2 separate regions of the Homo sapiens genome follow, and region 2 is linked to region 1. The links are contacts of gene promoters, found by promoter capture Hi-C in blood cells and fetal thymus (Javierre and others, 2016). All regions are on one chromosome and are shown on one strand. Each heading gives the region's core, a stretch centred on a gene start or on the middle of the fragment in contact. The rest is flanking DNA. Distances are from core to core; before and after follow the strand shown.

Region 1 (5,778 bases), core at 2,623-5,122:
CTAAAGAAAATTTAAAGGGTTTAAAAAGCTCATGAAGGACCAGGTTTCTTTGCATCTTTCTTGTCAGTGTCCTCTTTACATAACAATATGAGACAGAGAAAGAGAATTTCCCTGAAGACATTAGTCAGAACTGAGCCCCTCATATAGCTCTTAAACCAGTTACAGACAAAGGGGAATGGAATTATTGACATTAGTTTAGGCCAATCATAGTTTGTTCCTTGGAAAGAGAGAGGGGCCATGTTTCCTAAGCATGACGACCACCCAAATTAAGTCAGGGTTTGCTTACAAGAAAAAGAGGGTGGAGAGTGGTGTTGAATAGGAAGGGTTATGTTTTTTAGTGTCTGGGAAGTGCTTAGCTTAGTGCTCTGACCCACAGTGAGTGCTCAATAAAGGTTAGCTTTGCCAGCTCCCTGAGGCTGACATTCCCAGAGGGCAATTCTGTGCTCTCACAAAAAACAGACCTTCCTATTGTTTCAAAAAACAGTACACAGCACCGAACTTGACGGATCACAGGCCTGGCTCACACAATTTTGGATTTCTTACAGATCCCTTTGCATAGCAAAAATCTCCACACTTGGACACAGGAAGGGGAACATCACACACCGGGAACTGTTGTGGGGTGGGGGGACGGGGGAGGGATAGCATTAGGAGATATACCTAATGCTAAATGATGAGTTAATGGGTGCAGCACAACAACATGGCACGTGTATACATATGTAACTAACCTGAACGTTGTGCACACGTACCCTAAAACTTAAAGTATAATAATAATAATTTAAAAAAAAGAATGGGAAAAAAACAAAAAAACTCCACACTTTAGAAACATTTCTATCTTGTATACTGAACAAAAGGTGTGGAAAATGAGGGAGTTAAACCATGCTGCTTCAAGCATCATGCTACATGTTGAAGGTATTTATCCTGTAGTTCTCCTTTAACAAACTGCGTCATTTTGCTGGCTGAAGAAACTCTTGCAGCCCATGTTTGTCTTGAAGACAAATCCTGTTCAGATTTCTACAGCGTTCTCTCCTTTTTACGTCCACGTTCACAGCAACAGCTGGGAGGAATCAGGGATGCTAGATGAAATACTCAACTATCCATTGCCAATAATGGTGGTTACCAAATGACTCCCAACTCAGTGCCATTCAACAATGAACGTTTATTGTCATGTTCATGAGTCTGCAGGTTGGCTGAGTCTGGGAGATCTAGGATGGTTTCTACTGGACTTGCTTCCAAGCTGTAAATGGGGCTTAGGTCTGTCCTGATTGTCTCCTTAGATCAGAGGCTCCCTGAGGCATGTTTATCTCATGGAAATGATAAGAAACCCAAGAGGGAAAGCCCAACCTCAAAGCATATTTTGAGCCTTTGCTAATATCACATCTTCAAACATGCCATTGGCCAAAGCAAGTCACATTGTCCAACATCAATGGGATGGATAAATAAACAGGGTGTCTAGTAAAAACTGTAAGGTCACAAAGAAAAATGTGTGGACGCAGAAAGGAGCAGGGAGCAGAGAGCTATGATGCAATAAACTACCACAGGAGGCTCAATCTACTTCTTATTTTGCTTAGAGCTCATTGTAACTCTCCAATCTCCTCTTCTAGTGAGCGCAGCCCTGTCTTGCCTTCCTAAGCCACTGTGACAGGTAAAAACTATTTGGCCAATAATCTTTCCAGTAAATAACAAAGAGATAGAAGGAGAAAAGGAAAAGAAAGGAAAGGAAAGGAGGAAAGGAAAGGAAAGGAAAGGAAAGGAAAACAATTTGGTATGATCAGTTGTAAGGACAATTGAGAAGTTCTGGAGCCCTGGAAGCAGAGTTTCATTGCAGTACTCTGAAGTAGAGAAAATCGACTTGAGACGGTGACTGATACCTTCTGTGAGGTAATTAGCAAGCCAAGGCTGCTGGCTAGAGGGACTGTGGACCATTCAGGTTTTAGTTTAGGGACATGTGATCAAAATGAAACCAGTCAGTTTTTCATGAAATTCTTTGTAGCAATTGGCTTCCAAGCACAAGGCAAGACCCTCAAATGACAGCAAGAGTCATGGGTCTTGTTCACCAGGTTATCCATGGTGATTACAATAGTGGCTAGTATACAGCTGGCTACCAATAAGTATATTTTAAATGCATTGAAATATTTAATAGCAAATTTCTGTATTGGATTTTGGTAATCTTTTGACTGAGTTCATAAGCATTGGGCCTTGGAGTCCTGAGGGCAGAGAACAGGGAGAATGAAGGATTAAGAGAATGTAGTGTTTCTCTCCATTTTTCTCTCTTCGTATTCTTTCTTCTTTTTAAAAATCAACCTTTTTGAGATATAATTTATTTAAAACAAACTGCACTCAATTTAGGCGTACTTACAGAACTTACAAGTTTTGATAAACACACACACGATATAGAACATTTCCGACATGCTCATCAGGTGCTCGTAGCCCTTCCCTGTCCATCTCTACCTATCCCTGGCCACAGGCAAGCTTTCTGTCAACATAGAATATCTTGCCTATTCTGCAATTCCTACACATGGAATCAGGCAGCATACAGTCTATCGTGTCCGGCTTCTTTTACAAAGCTTAAAGTCGCGATTCATCCCTGATCTTGCATGCCCACTCATTTTTATTGTGGAATAGTATTCCAATATTTGGGCATACCACAGTTTGTTTATCCATTCACCTGTTGATTGACATTTGCAGGCTACTAAGAAGAAAGTTCTTCACATCACTTTACAAGTCCCTGCAGACTTGAACGTTTTCATTTCTTTTGGACAAATACTTAGGAGTGGAATTTCTAGGTTGTATGATAAGTAAATATCTTACTTTATAAGAAACTATTCTCCAAAGTGGTTTTACTATTTTATATTCCCTCCAGCAATGAACAAGAGTTCCAAGCTATTTCTCTCTCCGCCCCCCCACCTCCCGCGTGTGTCTCTCTCTCTCTCTCTTTCTCTCTCTCACACTCACTCACTCTCTCTCTCCCTCTCCTCTCTCTCCTTAATAAAAAAAAAAAAAGAGTTCCAGTTGCTCCACATCCTTTCAAGCATTTGGTATTACCAGTCTTTAAAATTTTATCCATTCTGGTCCTCCTCTTTCCCTTCTTCCCTCCCTCCCTCCCTTTCTTTCTTGAATTGAGAAATGTTTGTGGAAGGAGTGAAGACAAACATTCCTGGACCTATGTTCCTAAATGAGCAAGTTTCTATTAATAAGACTCTCCCCCACCCGCCACACATCCTACACACTCAAGGAGAGGAGCGGGAGAGGGCACCCTCTTTCTTCCTCGGAAAATAAAACCTTTGCTTTCTTTAGGATGGGCTTTCTGTCTCGAAAGCACAACGTAACCGTTTGCCCGGGTTTCAAGATCAGCGCGCTGCAAACTCTCAGGCGCGGCCAGGTTTCCTCAAAGAGCCTCTCAACTGCGCTCTTCTCTGCTGATAAATGATAATTCTCTTCAAAAAGCTGGTTTGTGGCTGGCGCTGGAGAGCTCCAGCTAGAGCCAAAAGCCAGGGGTTGCCTCTTTGGTTCCTCCCGATGGGCCCCTTTTCCCAGCCAGTTGGGATCCAAAGACGCTCCGGAGCTCGAGCCCAAATTCCCAAGAAAACCCCAAAGAGCGTAAGGCTCCTGGGGACCCCTAGCACCTCTGCAACCAGGGCACGGGGCATGCTCAGAGCGAATGCGGGAGGCAGGCGTTGGCTGCAATGGGGCTCGGGAGCCAGGAGGTGCCGCTGCGTCCCCGCTTCCTGGCGCCTGACCCAGCGTGCAAAGTTGGGCTGGGAGCCGCGGGGGGAAGGAAGGACCCAGCGAGCGAGGGTGGCGGGGAAGGGGGGCGGGGGGGAGGAGGAGGGAGGAGGGAAAAGAGCGGTTAGGGGGGGCGCCGGGCGTGTGTCACTCGCTCTCTCCCTCTGTGTATAGAGGATGTGCTGAATGGTGCGCTTTGAGGCGGCGGCGGCGGAGGAGCAGAATCCGCCGCGACTGGCAGCCTCGGCTGACCGGCTCGGCTTCTCTTCGCCTTCCGAGGCTCCTCATCCACCGCGGGCTCCAGACCTCGCGTCCCGCCCGGGGCATGGCCGGGCGCTGCGCCCCCGCGCGCTCTGCCTGCTGAGCGGCGCCGGAGGGAGGTGCGGAGGCCGGGAGGCCGGGGAGGCCGGCGGGGAGCAGAGTCGAGCGCCTCCGGAGCAGAGAAAGGAGCCCGCGCCCCGCGCCCCGCGCCCCGCGCACGGTCCCCAGTCCCTGCCGCGCTCGCCCGGGCCGCCCGGAGCCCAGATGAGCCCAGATGGCCGGGGCTCAACCCGGAGTGCACGCCTTGCAACTCAAGCCCGTGTGCGTGTCCGACAGCCTCAAGAAGGGCACCAAATTCGTCAAGTGGGATGATGTAAGTATTGGGGCGGCCCGAGTCGGGGCGCTGGCTCGGGCACCGGGCAGGGCGGGCGTCGTGGGGGTGGGGCAAGGGGCGCGTTATGCAATGGGCGCACTGGGAGCGGGCAGGGGCAGCCTCGGGCGCACAGGTTGGCATCTGCCAAAGCGGATGTCCAAGGGCAGAAGCTTTGCGCGCGCTCCTGTTTCATCGGGCTTCAGTAGTTGCCATCCTTTCTGGGTCTGGCAGGCGCCCCCTGAGGGTCTTACATCTTTTGGGCCAGTGGAGAGGGAGGGGCAAGCTTTGCCTGGTGACAGGTCCTGAGAGTTCGGAAAGTAGGGAGTGTGAAGTTGGGACCAACTGGAAAGCGCCTGGTGTGAACAAATCGCGTCCCTCTCCGCCTGCGGACGCACCCCCTATTACCTCTTTTGCCCGATTTCAAGAAGGAAGGACCTGAAGTTCAAAACACTTTAGTGATTGCGAACCCTCTTGGCGCTTTTGTGGGAGCCAAGGCGGCGGAGGACACAACGGTCCAGCCAACAGGTGGTCGTTGATGCCAAACTTCAGCGCCTGGCTCCGGAGTGAGGGTCCCTGAAAAGGGCTGCGGGGACACATCTGGGGAGGGCGTGAACAGAATGGGGGCCCTTGAGGGGTCCTGGAGGGCTCATGGGCCTGCAGGCAAGTGGGGAGGGCTGACTTTTGAGAACTGAGCTGATTGGAGTCTTCTGCCTGAAATAGACAGGTTGAGAGTTTGCCCCACGATTTACCTGCACCGTTTGCCAGGTAGGGCAGAGCCTAGCCCAGCGCCGGGGTCTCTAATGCTTTACGAGCGGCCCAGACCCCAGGACTTCAAATGACTTCCCCTTCCCCTCTACCCCAGTTGTCTTCAAAACACGTAAATTAGTTATCCAGCTGAAAACATGCGAATCTTCGGATGGAGAACATTATGGTATCAGTTTTATGTCCTGGGTGTCATTCTAAAGGTTCGATAAGAAAAACCTACTGAAATAAACCCGAGTTGCCAGGCTCTAAGCAAATTTAAGTCCAAATGACTAATACATCTCTTAATCAGAAGGAATTATAGGAGAATGAGGCGTTCTTCTTGCCGAAAAGATTTTCCACCTAGTAAATTATAGCCTGTTATCCTCTAGGGTATTTTTCTTTAATCTTCTTAAGCCATTTTCCAGTGTCTGAAAACAATTTAAATATTCCAGGTAGTGAATCCAATTACTTAGCTGAGTGCGTCTGTGTCTATATTTTGTCCAGCTGGAAGCGCAAACGGAACTTGGAGTATGAACCACAGCTTCCTTGAAAGCTCGTGCCAATTATTAAATGCTGTAGGCAAGGATGTAAACATACATCTTTTTACCATGGGCTTCACACTTTTCTTCTTTCTGTTCCAGTCTAATTGTACTGAATGTTTCTGTAAATGGAATAGA
Region 2 (5,754 bases), core at 1,254-3,753, 260 kb after region 1:
ATATGCTTGTCAAAAGGACCACTTTTCAGTCAAGTTTTCCTTAAACTTGACCACTATACTTAATGTAGAGAAGTACACCACGGTACTTGTATCAGTCTTCTCTGGTTACCACAGCAAAGTACCACAGGCTAAGTGGCTTAAAGCTTAAACAACAGAAGTTTATTCTCTCACAATTCTGGGAGCGGGAAGTCTGAGACAAAAGTGCCAGCAGGGTTATTTTCTTTGGAGGCCTTTCTCCTCGGCTTACAGATGGCTGCCTTCCCCGCATCTTCACGTGGTCCTCCCTCTGTTTCTATTCCTAATTTCCTCTTCTAATAAGGAACAAGTTGTATTGCATTAGGGCCCACCCTCATGAATGCATTTAACTTAATTACCTCTTTAAAGCACTATTGCTAAATACTATTACCTTCTAAATTACTGGGGGTTAATACTTCAACATATAAATGTTGAGGGGACACAAGTCAGCCCTTAACAGTGTTCCCTCATTACATTACAAAGCCTAGCTTAGGATTTGCTTCTTTATAAGGAGTAGCAGTGTATGATTATTTTGCTGTTGGTTTAATATAGAAAAGTAGATTTTTTTCTTTATAATCAATACAATGGTCAATGTGGATAAAACTGCATAGTCAGAATCATTTCAGAAATACACAATTGCTTTTGCAGAGTGGCTTTAGTACAGAATATGTTGATTTGGCATTATCAGCACTAATTTCTGCATGCCCCAGGGCACCCAGTATGTGTCTTTGTGTATTGCAAGTGCCTATAAGAGTATAGTTATTAAGGTCACAAGCTCTTGGGTCAGAAAGCCAAGCCACAACACCAATAACAAGCTGTATAATCCTGCAAGTTATATCATGTCTCTGAGACTTAGTTTCTTCATCTGAATTACAGGAATAATCGCCATGTTTATATCATCTAGTTGCGGTAAGGACTAAATGACAAAATGCACGTAAGGCACCTAACACAATTGTCACATCCATTGTTTGTCTAAATGCATTTTGCCATCATTATTAAGTAAATAAAATATATAACTTACATGTATGTGATGTAGTGGGAAAAAGCAAGTTAAATAGGCATAATTTACCTATTTACCATAGAATTCCATGCACTAATATAGATTGTCACTATAATCTATATTTATATATATAGATTGTCACTATAATCTATGTATAAGAGATTTATACTTTTGTAGCTGTGGCATTTAAACCTACTGATTAAAATCTAACTTCTATGTATTAGCTATAGAAAAATGAACTTGAGGCATATTTCTCTTTGCAGCCAAACACCTACCCCCAGAGAACTATCACAGCAATATTGTTGTACTAAGACTTACAGTTCTTATTTAGAAAACTGTCTAGATTTGCCAACAGTTAAATAGATTTTCCAACCATCAAAATAATTTTAGAGCAATTTACTTTCAGTTAAGAACATGCGGGTATCTTTTTCTGCACTATGAAGTCATTGAAGCAAAATCCAAAGCACTGTTTTGAAATGGAATAACAAGGTTAGGGGTCAGAGAGACCCAGATTCAAACTCCAGTGCACTTATTAGCTGAGAGAACCCAGGAAGGTTTATTGGTTTCCCTGTGAATGATAATACTTGCTGTATTGATTTGTCTTGCTAGTTGGATTTTAACTGGTAACAAGACATAAATCATAATGTTTGATACTACTTACTTCCCTATGGGCCTTAAGTTCACTTTTCAGTGTATTCTTCTTAATGTTCTGTGAGACTGGTAAATAATGAAGTATATATATATATATGTGTGTGTATATATATATATATATATATATATATATATATATATATACACACACATATATATATATTACTTGAACTTCCTCAATTTTGGAGATTAGGTCATAAACTAATGTGGCATGTAATTTGATACATGTTCCAGCAGGGGAAAATACTGGGATGTAATTTAACGAAAGAAACATTTTGAAATGGGAATATTCTCTGAAAATATGGAGTATATCATTACAATTCCTTTTCAGCTTTAGGACTCATAATAAACTGGGCACTGTCCAGTTTATGAGCAGCGAGTTCCTATAGTTTGAAAGTTTGCGTCCCCTCCAATATTCATGTTGAAACTTAATCGCCGATGCAATAGTATTTAAAGTTGTGGCCTTTTGAAGGTGATTAGGCAATGAGAACTCCTCCCTCATGAATGTGATTAAGGTCCTTATAAAAGAGATTTCACTCAAGGTTCAGTCTTTTTTGCCCTTCCTCCTTGGCCCATCTGAGGACACAGCATTCGAAATGCCACCTTGAAACAGAGAGCATCCCTCACCAGACACGGAACCTGTCTACGCCTTGATTTTGAGCCTCCCAGCCTTCACATCTGTGGAAAATAAATTTCTGTAAATATTTCCCACCTGACAGATCTTTGCTTATAAATTGGCCGGTCTGTTTGTTATAGTAGCACACATAGACTAAGATACTAGTTTTTAATTTGGGTACTGCAGCTGATGGAATAACCTGGGTAGAGTCATACCATCTTTTAGGAATCTCACCTTCCTCATAAAAAATGAAAGAGACAAGCAGGATGATCCCTGGGGACTAAAGGTAATATTTGTATCCATCATGGAGCTATTGGGAGAACTAAATGATATACATCTCTCAAATGGATTTGCCAGCCATAATGTGTGATATAGTAATATCAATTTGTGAGTAAGTTGGGTAGAGTGGAAGGAACTTAGGAATGTATACCAGTTTATTCTGAGAAATTTGTGTTTTGTCTTCTTTGAATGGGAAATGGCTGAAAATTCTTAAATTCCTTCAATGTACCATAAAAAAGTGAAATCCTATATCACTGCCTTTGGATGTGATACATGACCCATAGTAGGTATTTTCGTAGATGAAAGAATTCCTATCTATGGCATTTATCTTATGTGAAAAGTGGCAATTAAGATAGTAACATATTTGCCACTTAACAGATATTTGTTAATGATGAAATAAAGTTTTCCGGAACTCCTGAAATTAATGTCCATAGAGATTTCAAGAAGATGGAATAACCTAACTAATTAGACAGTATGTTTGTTGGTGTTTAAAGGTGAGACAAGACCACTGAGATTAAAAGATCAGAAAATTCTCCTCACACACCTAATACATTTTCTCTATGCCACCTGGTACTTCTGTACTCAAATGCTGCTTGATTTTTATATTTATACCCAAGAATTACTGATTTCAGGTAAGAACAGAGGGCTTGAGAGAAGAATTTGCTCATCACTGCCTGCCATGAATGGGCATAGCTCTGTGAACAGTTATTGTATTTTTTTTTCCTCAGGTATATAGAATACTTTATCAAAACCAAAACTCACTGTTTCTCCAAGTGAGTTCCTTGGAATACTAATAGATGCTATAAAAATGTCATCTAGGTGTGGTGGCTCACATCTGTAATACCAGCACTTTGGAAGGCCGAAGCAGGAGGATTGCTTGAGGCCAGGAGTTTGAGACCCAAAGCCCTATCTCTTAAAAAAAATATAGGTGGATGCAGTGGTGCATGCCTGCCTATACTCCCAGCTACTCAGTATAGGCTGAGGCGGGAGGATTTCTTGAGTCCAGAGTTCAAGGCTGCAGTGAACTGTGATTGCACCACTGCACTCCGGCCTGGGTGACTGGTCAAATAAGTTTGGGAAATGCTAAGGGTTCCTTTATTGCAGGATTTCTCACAGCTTTTGATGTGTTGGACATGGGTTAGTGTCACTTCTTTCTTTTTTCTTTAACTATGGGTCTCTTGGTCACAAGCATCTCATAGGATTAATATAAATGTTCTAAAAGCCATTTATTATGAAGTTAACCACACTTAATAAACTAGAACACCAGTTTATGAGTGATGCTTGTCTTCACAGTAGTGCAGATCCTATTAAAGATGTTTAGAGAACAGGTTCTTAGGTGATCTAAACCAGAAAGGCCTTTTTCATATATCTTGATAATATTAATATAATGTTGAATTTTGTCTTGTATTATATTATGATGTTTTGAATTTTAAAGTTTACTATTTGCATTCTTCCCACCTAATTAATTTTTTTAATTTGAGACCTTATGACAGAAAACCATCAGCATTGCCCACATATTACTCAAAACACAAGAATTTCATTTATTCCCATAGCACCTGGAATCTATGCTGGCATTTAGACAAGCCTAATGCCTAGTGTACCACTAGAGTGAGATTCTCTGTCCACTCTTAACTATTTCTAGAGCCTATTTTTCTATGGTTTCACATCTTATGACTTATATAAAATTGGTACTACTTGGCCTTTGTGGAAGGATTTTAAGTCAAGGTAAACCTTGAATTGAGGTTAGATTAAAAGTGGTAGAACTTACTTAGGGAGCAATAACTTTTAATAGTCATAGTTTCTTTTCGGTTCCTGGTGTGTGTGTGCAGAAAGAAAGAAGTCTGATGATTCTCTGGTTCATGGGAGTTGACTTTTATGCCCTGAAAGTGAGGCTTTGCTTCTGTATCCTCACACTGGGGAACAGCAGTGGTTAAGAGGCTCCACCAGTATTACTCATGTGGTCACAATCAAGTTGCTTAACTTCATGTCTTGCTTTCTTCATCCATAAAATGAAGTTAATAGTACTATTTCTCAGGGTTATTGTGAGGACTAAAGGCCATAACATATATTTCATAATAGGGGATCTGTAAGTTGTAGTTACTGTTATCCTTAAAACTATAGGCCATTAGTGCATATGTTTAATAGGCTTGAAGCTGTGCCATTATTTGACAAGTTAAACTCTTGGTTGCATCATCCATATTCTCAATGTTTTTCTTTAGGTATTTGCATTTGCCATCTATAGTATATAGGCTTCTATCTGGCAAAGTTTTCACTTTTAATGGTATCTTTAACAATATTTTTCAAAAGCTTTGAGCATCACTCATATTTCAAAAATAGTAAGGTCATGTTAAACTTTTAAATTAAATCGTTTCTTCCTAGACTATTTCAAGATTTGTAATACCTGGTTAAAATTGTTTAGCAAACACAATTTTTCTTTCTATGAATGTTAATTAAAAATTAAATTTGACTCTCTTTAGTTGAAATTAGTCATTTTGTATCTGTGCATGAATTACATTTTCCTTGATTCTTATAGTACCTTAGTATAAATAAATTTAGTAAGAGTTTAAAAAGAAGTTTCCTTGGTTGAGGTACATACAAACAATATGGGAAATTGAACACCTATTGACTTTATTATTTTTGCCATAGATAAATCTCTACTGTCGAAAGCAGTAGTTAATGAGACATTTATTTTATTTTATGGGTCTCTGAAACATGCTTCTCTATTAATCAATTTGCTTGCAATTTTGTTTGAAGATTAAAGATTCTTTAGAAGGCATTGTCTACATATTATTACTTATGGATACCAGATGAAAATCTAAATAAAATTAATTTAAGATCTCTTATATTAGTTCTGTCCTACACATATACCAAAGAATGTGGAATGGCTGAATAAGGAAAATTAAATTTTAAGTTTACACAATTTTAAAGTCAATAATGCTTTCAAATAAATTATCTATACATAATATTGAAAAGGAATAGCTCTTAGAATATCTAAAATAAAAATAGATGATTGAGTGGGATATTTCACATGAGTTGGTGGTTTATAAAACTTTGAGAAAGTATGTTAAAGAATAAATTGTGTAAGTAATAGCGAACTAGACTCAGTATTTAATTTTATGCTTAGCTGCTCAAAATTTCATGGTTTGAGTTGAGAATTCTTAAGTCAAATAATTTATTTGAAGGATACTGTAGA

What was found. The method cuts DNA at HindIII sites, captures the fragments that hold promoters and counts their contacts. A CHiCAGO score of 5 or more calls a contact.
Region 2: a fragment that was not itself captured here is called in contact with the fragment with the promoter of PLCB1 in region 1 in 1 of 17 cell types (M0 macrophages); the score reaches 5.2 in M0 macrophages.

Annotation. Positions count from the first base shown.
Region 1 is chr20:8,128,394-8,134,171 of GRCh38, forward strand. PLCB1 (phospholipase C beta 1) reads left to right here and starts at 3,873. Exons shown (of 32, transcript NM_015192.4): 1 at 3,873-4,357. The coding sequence starts at 4,259. RefSeq lists a silencer at 3,959-4,098. The HindIII fragment of the contact is 1,963 bases long and covers 2,563-4,525 here.
Region 2 is chr20:8,390,016-8,395,769 of GRCh38, forward strand. All of the region lies in intron 3 of PLCB1 (phospholipase C beta 1), which reads left to right. Among named protein-coding and RNA genes, the nearest start is that of PLCB1-IT1, 140 kb to the left of the region's middle. The HindIII fragment of the contact is 4,725 bases long and covers 142-4,866 here.